3 separate regions of the Homo sapiens genome follow, and all the other regions are linked to region 2. The links are contacts of gene promoters, found by promoter capture Hi-C in blood cells and fetal thymus (Javierre and others, 2016). All regions are on one chromosome and are shown on one strand. Each heading gives the region's core, a stretch centred on a gene start or on the middle of the fragment in contact. The rest is flanking DNA. Distances are from core to core; before and after follow the strand shown.

Region 1 (4,734 bases), core at 153-2,652, about 38 Mb before region 2:
AGCTGTAAAATCAGAGACTAATTTGCAAATGTATCAAAATGCTTCATGACCAATTCCCTAAATTTATTAATCAAAAATATATCTTAAGTAAAACTTTTATTAGATATAAATATATTCATATAGTCAATGAATATGATTTTCTTATCAGAATTTTAAGGATTGTCCAATTTGTCAAATGCTGTTCAGACAGACAAGCAATATTAGTATTCTTAAAACCAGAATCAGCATATGCAAAGATAGGGAGTGTGGTTCAAAGAAATGTAAATAGTTTTAATATTCCAGAGTGTAAGATAAATAGGGAGAAAAATCAGAAAAAATGGGGGTCAGATGATGAAAAGTATAAATATATTTTATTCTATAATCGATGGAAAGTAACTGAAACATTTAAGCAGGAGAATCCCTAGAATTCTCAACCTAGAATCCCTTTTCAGAAAATAGTCTGTCCCAACCTCACAAGAGGTTTCTTGAAGCCATATTGATACTAGAGAATCTCATCCCTCCACTGCCATAGTTAGCTGGATCAGGGACACATGTTCCACTGACTAAGGCCACTCAGATTTTCTCATCTAAGAATTTAGAATTGTGACATATAGCAACTCAGTCAGTCAGCTGTGGTCTATGTGCAATGAACTTGTAGTTAATGTAAATTTAGAAGTTAGGAGTGCAACTTGGAGACCACAGGCAAGGAGAGCAAAGAGAACCAGTATACAGAGACATAAAGCAGTACACATACTTAAAGAAAAGAGAACATGTAGCCCTAGAAAGAAAACATCCAGTTTCCTGTTTAGTACTCATGGGATCTGGCTATACATCTTACCCTTAAGTGATACAACCCCATAGCTTTTCAAAAAATCCAATTTCTGCTTAAGCTAATTTAAGTGGGTTTCTATTTTCTGCAACTGTTACTAAACAAGGTTTTGGCGGTTAATCAGATTCCGGTGGTTAATCTGAAGGATAAATTAATGGGAAAATAGGCTACAAATAGGTGGAACATTTAAGGTAGAAAAGGAGTTACCAAACAAAAGCAGTAGTAACAAACAGAGGCAGGTATGATGAAAGAAAAGTAACCAATATAGTGCAGGGTCCTCAAAGCTTAATTAACAATAGTTTCAGGAAGCTGGAGCAGTATCAATTGCGTCTAAAGACTAGAAGCAACAGAATGTCATGATACCTTTAAGAAAACCACTTCAACAGAATAACTGAGACAGAAGTCATATATGAGTAAGCTAAATAAACGGTAGACAAGGCATCTAAGAAATTTCTTTAAAAAAGAAAGAAATTTGAGGGTACAACAGTATTAAAGAGTATAATAAAAACATGAGAGACGTTAACTTATTTTTAAGCCAAGAGCCAGTGGATAATGCAAAGCCCCACCCTGCAAAAGAGTAAAACATGATATTCCAGAGGAAGCAAAAGCCCAGGAAAGTATAACCTTACCAAGAAGAAGCAATTTTTCCTTAAAATTCAGTAGAAATAAAAAGGATGGCTAACATTCCAAGAAATCTGAAAGTAAAGACAAGAAAACTTGAGGAAACTCACGTGGTTGAACAGCACGTATCACTACATAGAGATGAGTGATATGCTGAGAACAAAAGAGCAGGAGTAGGTTGGATGACAGAAAACAACATAAAAAGTTTGAGCCACAACTGGGGAATGGGATGGGTGTCAATAAGAGTTAAGACAAGGATGACCTTTACTAACCCAAAGCTTCAGGAGATAAAAAAACAAAAGAACCACAAATTGATATAATAAGGAAAAAGTGAGGTATTACTGAGCTAGGTAAGGATAAGTTCAGGTATAGTTCAATACATAACCTAGCATGATGTAACTCTAACTGGCAAGAATTTATCAAATTTGATTAATCAAATGATTAATTTTAATTAATTTTAATTAATCATATTTGATTAATTTTTGCAAGTTAGAGTTAGGCTAATAAAGCTATGTGTAGATGTTTCTATCCTAAAAGCTGAAAAGTGCTCTATTTTAAATTTGCATTATAAAGACGTCTGACAGACATTTCAAAATTTTTTTTTTTTTGAGATGGAGTCTCGCTCTGTCGCCCAGGCTGGAGTGCAGTGGCGCAATCTCGGCTCACTGCAAGCTCTGCCTCCCGGGTTCACGCCATTCTCCTGCCTCAGCCTCCAGAATAGCTGGGACTACAGGCGCCCGCCACCACGCCCGGCTAATTTTTTGTATTTTTAGTACAGACGGGGTTTCACTGTGATCTCTCGATCTCCTGACCTCATGATCTGCCCGCCTTGGCCTTCAAAATGTTTTTAAACATTAAAATAACTCAGACCTATCTCCATATTCAAAAATCAATGCTATTAAATAAACAGAAATGAGATACCATGATACACTTATTAGAATGACCAAAATCCAGAAAACTGACAACACCAAATACTGGAGATGGTGTGGAACAACAAAAACTCTTATTGTTGGTAGGAATACAAAATAGTTCGGGCACTCTGGAGGGCAGTTTGGGAGTTTCTTACAAATCTAAATATATTCTTACCATACAATTGGACACCCTGGTATTTAACCAAAGGAGTTGAAAAGTTGCATCCACACAAAAACTTGCATAGGATGTCTATAGCATTTTATTCATAACTGCCAAAACAGAAGCAACCAAGATGTCCTTCAGTAGGTGAATGAATAAACTAAGGTACATACAGACAATGGGATATTATTCAGTACTAAAAAGAAATAAGCTATCAAGCTATGAAAAGACATGGAGGAAAATTAAATGCTTATTTCTAAGTGAAAGAAACCCATGTAAAATGGCTACACACTGTATGATTCCAACCGCATGAGATTTTCCCAAACGCACAACTATGGAAACTGTAAAAAGATCAGTGGTTGCCAGGGGATGGAGGAGAGGGAAGGATGAATAGGTAGAACACAGAGAATAAGCTTAGTGCAGGGACACTATTCTGTATACTATAATGCTGGATACATGTCATTATACATTTGTACAAACCCATAGAATGCACAACACCAAGATGTGTGCACTCTGGGCTCTGGATGATGATGATGTGTCAATATAGGTTCATCAACTGCAACAAATGTACTCTTGTGGAGGATGTCGATAATGCATATGTACATATGTAGGGACGCAGTTATTTGAGAAATCTCTAGACCTTCCTCTCGATTTTGCTGTGGACCTAAAACTGCTTTAAAATATGAAGTCTATTAAAAAACAACAAATCCAGATAAACTGACTTAAATCTAAAAAATAAAACTGCAAGATTCTTAGGAGCAAACTTGGGTAGCTATCTTTTAAACCCAGGATAGGGAATAATTTATTTAAAAGGGCATGAAAAGCAATTACAGTAAGTCCTCACTTAACACTGCTGATAGGTTCTTGGAACTGAGACTTTAAGAAAAACAATGTGCTTCAGGTCCTTTAATAATGCTGTTTCGCTCAATATCATTTCTTTTCTTTCTTTTTTTGAGACAGGGTCTCACTATGCTGCCCAGGTTAGAGTGCAATGACACGATTCCAGCTCACTGCAGCCTTAACTCTTGGGCTCAAGTCATTCTCTCACCTCCACCTCCAAAGTAGCTGGGACTACAGGTGTGCATCACCACTTCTGGCTAATGTTTCATTGTTTATAATATCATTTCCTTAGAACACTGATGAGAAAAAAGAAACTGGTTTCATTATAAGTTATTTTGCTTAAAGTCAGTTTCCAAGAACCCGTCAATGACATTAAGTGAGGACTTACTGTATGATAAACAATGGACAAATTTGACTTAAGAATTTTTTTTATCAAAAGATGCACAGCAATGACAAAAACTGTATTTAGGATTCCGAGTTTGTAAACTTCTGAACTAGTAAACTGTTCAGAAGATTAATATTTTGCTTTATATCCAGTATTAAATCTGATCAACTCCAGCATTTTAATGGCAAGCTATGAAAATACCTAAATAACTGACTCACATAATCTTACGGAATATACTGCCCTTTAAACAAAAGAATAAAATATTATTAATGACTAATAATAAGTAGTTTGCAACAGAGAGGTATGGAATTGGAAAATAAGCAACTGATGAAGTGTATGTATAATTTTTGCTATTTCTTTGCTTCTGAATTTACTCATTAACTAAATCAACCTAGCATTTGGGTGCCTAGCATGTGTGAAGCAATACAATATTTTATACAACTTCCTATGGCTGTTCATTTGGATAGTTTACAAATCCCCAGGCCATAAACTATTAATATAACTTTACCCTTTCTATACCAAATGTACAATAGATATTAAATACAAGCCTGTTGATGATAACGATGTAAATTATTCCAAATATTTGCCAAAGAAGGTAGAGGCATTTAAAACTGTCCCTCCCACACAACTCCATAAAAGAAAGCGAAAAAGTTAGGAACTGAAAGAAGACATTCACAATGTACACAGAGGATTAACATAAGCAATATAAAGAACTCTTATAAACTAGTAAGAAAAACAAAAATAGGCAAGAGACATAAATAGGAATTTCACTGAAGAAGCCACGTAAAAAGGCCGACAAACATAAAAAGAAGTGTTCTACATCAGTGATAACCAGGAAAATGCGCATCAAGACCACAATAAGGCAACATTTTACACCCTTATGATTTGTAAAACTTAAAAAGAGAATATCAAGTGTTGGAGAGGATGGATAACCAAAGGATCTTTTATTTCATATATTGCTAATATGAATATAAATTGGTGCAACCATATTGAAAGTTCTGCATCATCT
Region 2 (4,362 bases), core at 387-2,886:
ACTGAACAATTAGGTCATATTTCTGATTTCTCATGAATATATTCCCAGTTTATGGAGCCTAGGCCTTGCTGGGTGTGGTGGTATGGCTCACACCTGTAATCCCCACTCTCAGGAGGCTGAGGTGGGAGGATGGCTTGAGCACAGGAGTTGGAAGCCAGCCTGGGCAACATAGTGAGGCCCTGTCTCTAAAAAAGTAAATAAATGATACAAGTTTAAAAAGTTCTTAAGGGAAGCCTAGGCCTTCATGCTACATGATGATTTCACTAGTTATTTTAGCTCTACAGGATAAAATCAGCAATCTTACTTCACATTTTCAAGCTTTTACATACTTTCCAAAGCAAGTAAATGCCCCATGACAATCCAGAAGCTGATATTTTCCCAAGTCAAGGATGAACAACTTCCACTGTCACACTTTCTCTAACCTGGACGACAATTACAAACTGTCACACTTCATTGTACATAGTCTTTGGCTGTTTTAGTTACAGAGGTTGTCAATTTCTGACCATGGGTTGAAACTTTCAATATTTGGTGAATATTCCAAAATAATTTCTTATGAAAATGAATAGGCCGGGTGCAGTGGCTCACGCCTGTAATCCCAACACTTTGGGAGGCCGAGGAGGGCGGATCACGAGGACAGGAGTTCGAGATCAGCTTGCCCAACATAGTGAAACCCCGTCTCTACTAAAAATACAAAAAAAACTTAGCCGGGCTTGGTGGCGGGAGCCTGTAATCCCAGCTACTATGGAGGCTGAGGCAGGAGAATCGCTTGAACCCAGAAAGCGGAGGTCGCAGCGAGCCGAGATCGCGCCACTGCACTCCAGCCCGGGCCACAGTGCGAGACTCCGTCTCAAAATAATAAATAAATAAATAAATAAATAAATAAATAAAAATAGACTGACTATATTCAAAGCTGGATTCAAGTTTTATCCCATTTGTAAGATGTCTCAGCTTAAAAAAACAAATATAACTGCAGCAGTAGAAAGGTTTTCCCTTTTTTCCCCCTTTGGAGCAACCCTATTAACTCGAGGTTGTTATTTCTCATAACTACCTTATCAATTAAAAAAAATGCTCCTCCTCTTCTCTGGAACGAGATTTTTACCTTTCTCAGCTTCCTCGTCTCTCCCATGTCTACCATGGCAGTCTGGTTACTTCTGTGTTACGGAGTCTGAGGATGCAGACGTCAGGGAGCTTGGGACTGGGTGTGACAGTGTGGATTCGGTTTTGACAGGTTGAGCGTGAGAGACTATATGAAGCTGTATTTTGCTGAAACATTGTAGAGAAAAACATATATTTCTGAAATGCTGTTTGTTAGACGAGTTGTAACAGTGTGTTTAGTTGGTTTGTGAGGGTGGTGTGTATTTGTGTGACTAACCACGTGAGGTGCACAATCTGGTCCCCGCCTCAGCTAGGGGGAGGCGCTATCCTGAGGCCTTTGCTTAAATCCAAACTGGAATAACCTGTTGCGAGACTTGAAGCTTCCGCAGCTGCAGGTTGCAGTCTCTGCCGCCAGCGCAGAGATCCTGGCCGGGTAGTCGCGCGCTCAGCGCTTGACAGGAGGGTGGTCACGTGGAGCCGCAAAGCGGCGCTTTGCGACCTCGATGACAGGCAAAATGTGCGACAGCCGTGGCGCTGGCCAACCAGGGGCGGAGGCGGCGGCCAGGGAGGAAGCGGAGGAGGCGGAGGCGGCCGCGGCGTTCGCCCGCCCGCTCGCTCGCTCGGTTTCCCCGCCCCCGCCGGGCTTAACGCCGCTGAAGGTATCCGGGTGCGCGCTGTCGCAACCTGCCCTCATCCTGGCCCGCGACTGTAAGACCGGACCCACATCCAGACCAATCTTCCTGTCCGGGCTGCTGCGACGCGGGCTCCGCAGGTTGCAGGCGGGCGGCCGGGGCGCCTGAAGGTTACCGAGTGCATGAGCGCCTAGCGCTTCCCGCGCTGCCCCGCCCGCTGGCCCGCCGACCCGCCCGCCGGCTCGCCCGCCAGCCCCTCGGCGCCCGGCGGCGGCGGCGGCGGTGGCGGCGACGGTCGCAGGAGGTGCCGTCTGCCTCCCAGGTGCGCGCTTCGCTCCCGGAGCCGCGGAACTCGGCGGCCGCCATGGCGTCCAACATGGACCGGGAGATGATCCTGGCGGATTTTCAGGTGAAGTATCTGGCCCTCTTCCCCTCCCACTTCCAACCTCGTGGGTTTCCGGTGCCACAAGGGAGTCTTCTTCCCAGCGTTTGAACGCTGCAGTGGTGTGTCATTTAGGCTTTTATACGGTGCGTGGCGTGTGTGTGTGTGTGTGGCGAGCTATGGAGAAGCGTATAATTTATATGCTATCATGAGTGTGTAGAATGTGTTAAGTACGGGTTGAATGGGATTGGAGGTATTAATGACTTGGGTTACAATGTGTGTGGAATGTGTAGTGTTTCCTGTATTATATGGGGGGACGTGTAGAGTTTTTGTTTTAATTGGTGTTGGACCATTAAGTATGGGATGTTTTGGGTGGTTCTGTGGGGAGAGATGTATGGAGTGTGAGCGTGGAGCGTGTGGTGTTATGGGCGTGGTGTATTTATATTGTATTAAGGGAAGAGTAAAAAAGCAGAATGATGAGATGGCGAGGGCAATGACAATGGGGTACTGAGGTCCTTTTCAAAGAGGAGTAAACATTTGAGACTTTGCCTAATTGGAATCTTTGGAGGGTAAGAAGATAACAAGGAGACAGATAAGACTATATATTCCAGAGTATCTCTGCAATGAATTCACAAGCTTAATAAATTACCTATTCATATTTGCGGATTCCCCTCCCCTACAGACTTGAATTGCTTGGTTGGTGTCCTTTCTCCAGGAATACTTTAAAGGATAAGTAAAGGCTGTTCTCTTAATAAACCCAGTCGTAGTGCCACTGACATGTAAGTATCTTAGGAAGGCCCTTTGAAAGTAGAACTGTATGCATTGTGAAAGACTTGGAGCTAGAACTAATATCCTGTGAGTGCTACCTTTGCCTTTTGATGTTTGGTGAAGGAATTATTTTAGTGAGATATTTTTGGCCATTTTGGCATCAACTTAGAAGCTACTGTCAAGTATAGGCAGACTTTTCCCTCTTTTTTAATACTCACATTGCACAGGTTCTAACACTAGCTTAGTAGGCAGTATTTTTCCTTGCTGAAATTTTGTTGGGCTTTTCTCTCTCTCTGTTCTATTAAGTTCCTTATTTTTTTTAAAATTAATTAATTTTTTTTTTTTTTTGAGACGGAGTCTCGCTCTGTCGCCCAGGCTGGAGTGCAGTGGCGCGATCTCGGCTCATTGCAAGCTCCGCCTCCCAGGTTCACGCCATTCTCCTGCCTCAGCCTCCCGAGTAGCTGGGACTACAGGCGCCGGCCACCACGCCTGGCTAATATTTTTGTATTTTTAGTAGAGACAGGGTTTCGCCGTGTTAGTCAGGATGGTCTTGATCTCCTGACCTCGTGATCCACCCTCCTCGGCCTCCCAAAGTGCTGGGATTACAGGCGTGAGCCACACTGCTCCCGGCCCTTATTTTTACAAATTAACGTTCAGATAACCATTTTCAGAGTTTGCTGTTTTGGTTACCCAGTGAAATCTGATATACAGGTATTAGGAATATGCATATATCTACAGTTTGATTAAACCATAACCTCCAAACTAATAAAGGAGTGTCCTTATAATAAAAGTTGACCATAAGATTTTGATGTTTTGTAGGTTTAGGATTGGCCTGAGGCTTTTTGCCTGCCTACATTTTAAAAAATTTTTCAATTAATTAATTAATTAAATTTTTTAGAGATGGGCCTTGCCATGTTGCCCAGGCTGGTCTTGAACTCCTGGGCTCAAGTGATCTACCCACCTCAGGCTCCGAAAGTGTTGGGAATACAGGTGTAAGCTCCAACACCCAGCCCTGCCTAAGTTTTTCATCATCGTCTTTTTGTTTTGTTTTTGTTCTCCAGTTCCATTTTTTATCTAATGTGGAATGCACTGTTTGAAAAAGGACTCTATATTTCAAGGTGTAGTTTTACCGTGTTACAAAATTGTCTTCTGATTTCCCTCATTAAAAACTTTATAAAGTAATTATAACTTTGTTTTAATTTTACCTTTTTATCTCTAATAACTTGCATCTGCTTTCTATTTTTTGTGTGTGACAATTATTATGCTTAACTGTTAACCTTATATTGGCTAAAGGACAGGAAATTTAGGCTTCTTGTACTCAGGCAAAGCAAGATTTTCCAGGGATTTTGGTTTGGAAATGAAAATGAAAATTTCGGCCGGGCATGGTGGCTCAGGCCTGTAATCCCAGTACTTTGGGAGGCTGAGGGGGCGGATCACGAGGTCAGGAGATCAAGACCATCCTGGTGAACATGGCGAAACCCGGTC
Region 3 (4,563 bases), core at 131-2,630, about 38 Mb before region 2:
TGAACCTAGCCTTTAAATCATCCCAGCCCAGTCACCAGACAGGAGGGTAAAGACCTATTTCCCTCTTGGTAAGAGATCTTCCATTCTCAGCCCTTCCAGTCCCCACCAGTTCAAGTTGCTTCCAGCTGTTGGAAGCATCCTATTTGAGGCCCTAGACATCATGGAAAGAGACAATCCCCACTATGTCCTGTACAAACTCCCAAACCATAGAATTTGTGAGCATAATGAAATGGTTGGTTGGTTGGTTTGGTTGGGGGAAGGGGGGACAGAATAATAGATATACATGGCAATATTTAACTAGAATATACATTCCAAGTCAGATATTTAAATAGGCCCTCTTCTCAAACTTTCCATTGATAGAATTTTTTGAAATATTTAAACTATCTAAAGTGAGTGATTAAAAACATTTTAGCTTGGCCAGGAGGGGTGACTCACACCTGTAATACCAGCACTTTAGGATGGCGAAGCAGGAAGATCACCTGAAGTCAGGAGTTTGAGACCAGCCTGGCCAACATGGTGAAACCCTGTCTCTACTAAAAATACAAAAAAAAAAAAAAAAAAAAAAAAAAAAATTAGCCGGCATGGTGGCACGCACCTGTAGTCCCAGCTACTCAGGCGGCTGAGCCAGGAGAATCACTTGAACCTGGGAGGCAGAGGTTGCAGGGAGCCGAGATCACACCACTGCACTCCAGCCTGGAAGACAGACTGAGAATCATCTAAAAAACAAAAACAAAAACTCAGTTTAGCTTTTACAATTCATTCACTCATTTGACAAAATCTATGGAGTATCTAAAATTTACTGGGGTTATACCTGCATACACACATTAGGATCCAATTATATTCACTCCTGTGTTTCCCATGTAGATTTTGAGCTTCTTGAGTGAAAACAATATATATTACTTCTGTAATCTCCACAGCATCCAGTAATATATAAAGTTTAATATGAGTAGAAAGTGCTTGATAAGAACTTGTTTGATGATTTTTAAAATGTATAATAGAAATGTATATATGTAACCATTCTTTATGTGCATACATACCACTTATTCAAGTGTGGCTGAAAATATGTGTATTTTCTAATTAAAAATAAGAACTGCTAGTTATAGGTACTTATAAAATATAAAAGCGATTTTAAAATATGTCACTTTATAAAGATTCTTATGAAGGGTTTCCTATTAAAGATGCTATTTTGGAAGAGTATTACAGTCATTTGCATATTTATTTTTGTATGCTGGTAATTCACATGATCTGTGTATTGCTTTTACAGTTTAACTGTAAGCCTCTTGCCAAATGAAATTTTATTTTTAAAGTACCTTATCACCACACACACATATGCAAGCAGTCTGAATTGTATAAAATATAAGATCCACATTTCAATTGCTTTACTTTGTTGCCTATCACAACTAGAGCATCCTAAAATTCTCCTTTATTAGAGCAAAATGTGGCTGATTCAAATATCATACTTCAGCTGCCTTCACCATTTGAATGAAATAAGCTCCCAGCAAGATGTATTCAAGAAACTATGGTTCAAACTGTGTTATTCTGCTATAAAGCAATCTGCTAAACATTTCTGAAGCAATTTAGCTGTGACTTAGTTGCAAACAATGTGGACACTTAATCTGTGACTTGAAATTGGGGCTACAGAGAAGTATTCAAGACTTTTCTCATGAGTTCACTTGCTTCAGAGAAAGATACTTCCTATTTTCTTATGAGCTAAGAATGGAAAGCTAAGAACTATCAACTATATTAAAACAATGAAAATGATCAACCTTATAAGTTGAGTTTGTATTAAATCTGAAGTATTGTAGATATAATGATACTATATCACCTATTGTAGGTATAAATATATTATAAGGGCTTTTACCCAAAAGAATAGGACTTGCTTTTAGAATTATTCTGGGTTATATTTGTCTTACCATAAATTCTTCATAAATATATCTTACCTATATTATTAACATCATTTTTTCACTGTTTTCTCAGCTGATAGACTCTGTATTTGGAGTAATTATTTGCCTAAAAAATGCATGCCATCTTGACGAGGTCAACATTCCAAAAATATTTTTTGTACTGAGTTAATAAAATATGTTACATTAATCAACTGTACTATAATCTTTGATACTGATCAAACCATGTTTAAATTTGAAATTCACTATTTATAATATATATATCAATATATGAATAAAGATAAAGGAAAATGGACACAGAGGTTTATCAAAATAAGGGAAAGTAAATCCTTATTCTTATTTCAAGTCAGTTATTTTTAAAGATATTATTTAGGCTATGACTAATATGTCAAAACTCACCATGTAGAAATCATGTGGGTATAACTGTACAATGTTAAAATTCACTTATGTTTGTTTAAAATAACTGTTGATTAGCCAGATTTTCTTATATTTCAACCTCTTGGTTTGGCATTATGTGAGTAGTATAGTAATAGAATAATAATAAAGCAAATAATTTTTTGTAGCCTGTTATTTAAGACATTTTACATTAACTCAGTTTTTTCACTTTTGAACTATCTTTCTAAAACCATTAACCTTCAAATGCATTTTTATCTTCGAACTGATTCATGATGTAGACTAACATTTTAGTTGTGGCAGCTCTGAATTAATCACTTTTCATTAGTACCTGTTTTACTTACCGTAGGTACCATGCTAAAAGTTGATCTCAATTTGGGCCTTCTCCTATTACTTAAATGCTGAAAGAATTTAAATTTCTTAGTTATAATGATAAACTCAACTCATTTGTTTTTATTTGAAAGGTAAATGAGGCCAGAAGCTATAAAGGCTTTTATGAAAATAAAAAGCTTACTCAAAGTGTTAGATTTGATTTGTTCGGTATGCAGTGTTGATGGGGCATCCTTTGCCTAAGGCAGTATTAATGGATGAAAGTCAGGACATTCCTGGCAGAGATTTGAGGTGTAATGGTGAAGATTTTCTGTATATTCATTCCCTCTACACTTGGTGTGATATTGACCTGGTCTTTTGGAGAGATATAACTTGTAAACAAATCATAGTTACATCTACAATTGGCAAACTATGTTTTTCAGCATACCATTATTTTTTTCTCCTGCTCTCCTCTACTTACTTCCTTCTCTATCCCATGGGGTTAGAAATTACTTTGAACAGATTGGTGAATAAGGGTAATATTCCACAAGCTACAGCATCCACTCTTTTTATGGTTTGGATTTTTTTTCTCTATCTCTGTATCTCTATATACTTCTGAAATCTGTAATTCTTGTGTGTTTTGAACCTAACTCATCCCCCCAAAACAATTCTAACTTTAATATCCTCCCTCAATAATCCATATCTTCCTTATCAGTTACATTCTTAAAATTCTCCCTTTTGTCAAATCTATATACAGTTGTCCATGAGTGATTGTTTTCAGGACCACCCCCTCGTATCCAAATCCACAGATGCTCAAATCCCTTGTGTAAAATGGCATAGTATTCGCATATACCCTACCCTGTATATTTTAAATTATCTCTAGATTACTTAGAATACCTAATAAAATGTAAATGCTGTGTAAATAATTGTTATACTATAATGTTTAGGGAATAATGACAAGTAAAAATGTCTGTACTTGTTCAGTACATATGCAACCATCCATTTTTTAAATGTTTTCAATCTGATGTTGGTTGAATTCAAAGATAGGAAATTCATGGATACAGAGAGCTCTCCACTATCAACTTTGAAAATAGAATAGCTGAGTTTTACATTTAGCAATTGAAAATAAGAGAAGTAATTTGCAGATATAAGTATGTATTAGATTAATTGGATGACTTCAAATCTCTGTCCAGCAATTGTCAATTTGTTTACATGTAATCCAAATGCAATTTTCTTAAATATCAAGGGAGTGAGTTAGAGTCCTATTTGTTTCTTAATTTGAATTGTCTTGTGAATCAGCCAAGGTACAGAAAATAAAACATGATAAGCCAAAGTACAGAAAAATTTTTATTTTCATTTCAGGCAGGCAGTCAAGGGTATTAAGATTTGAGCTCTAGCTTTAGGTCAAATTGCCCCTACAATTCTACTGTTATTATTTTTACCTATTACATTACTTTGTATATTTCTGTTTCCCTGTATTGGTATCTGTTTAATGAGACCACAAACAGTAAAACAGTAAAGAACAAAGAGATAAGGAGAATGAAACAACAGTAGAATTTAGAAGTTAAATAAAACACATTCAATTTTACCTCTTTCCAGAGGAGCCTATACCAGCTCTAAGTTCAACTGCCTGAGACCAAAGTAATGATTCTGTCAACCTATTTGCCTTGATCAGAATGCTTATTTGGCCTAACCATTACATATGACAAAAGATAACTTGTATATGTTGCATGTGTGTGTGTGTTTACATGGGTCAAATACATTTCTTATGTCAATAATAATATAGTAAACATTTATGCCAAATACTGTTCTAAATGCTTTATAGTTTATCCTCCCAACGACCCTATGAAGTAAGTACTATTAGTACTTATCTTTTATAGGTGAGGAAACCGAGACTTAGCAGGGTTAAGTGAACTGCCCATGGCTTCACAGATGCAGGAGGCAGAACCAGAACTCAAAA

What was found. Contacts are between HindIII fragments. The CHiCAGO score rates a contact against its expected background, and 5 or more counts as called.
Region 1: a fragment that was not itself captured here is called in contact with the fragment with the promoter of FAF1 in region 2 in 3 of 17 cell types (fetal thymus, naive CD4 T cells and activated CD4 T cells); the score reaches 20.1 in fetal thymus.
Region 3: a contact is called between a fragment that was not itself captured here and the fragment with the promoter of FAF1 in region 2, in 2 of 17 cell types (total B cells and activated CD4 T cells). The highest score is 6.2, in total B cells.

The regions. Positions count from the first base shown.
Region 1 is chr1:88,692,430-88,697,163 of GRCh38, reverse strand. All of the region lies in intron 1 of PKN2 (protein kinase N2), which reads right to left. Among named protein-coding and RNA genes, the nearest start is that of PKN2-AS1, 9.6 kb to the right of the region's middle. The HindIII fragment of the contact is 615 bases long and covers 1,095-1,709 here.
Region 2 is chr1:50,957,541-50,961,902 of GRCh38, reverse strand. FAF1 (Fas associated factor 1) reads left to right here and starts at 1,636. Exons shown (of 19, transcript NM_007051.3): 1 at 1,636-2,136. The coding sequence starts at 2,092. It also overlaps a transcript of CDKN2C not described here. RefSeq lists silencers at 1,670-1,829, 1,940-1,989 and an enhancer at 2,300-2,349. The HindIII fragment of the contact is 1,270 bases long and covers 1,478-2,747 here.
Region 3 is chr1:88,670,683-88,675,245 of GRCh38, reverse strand. The region is part of intron 1 of PKN2-AS1 (PKN2 antisense RNA 1); the gene reads left to right. Among named protein-coding and RNA genes, the nearest start is that of PKN2, 11 kb to the left of the region's middle. The HindIII fragment of the contact is 2,851 bases long and covers 1-2,805 here.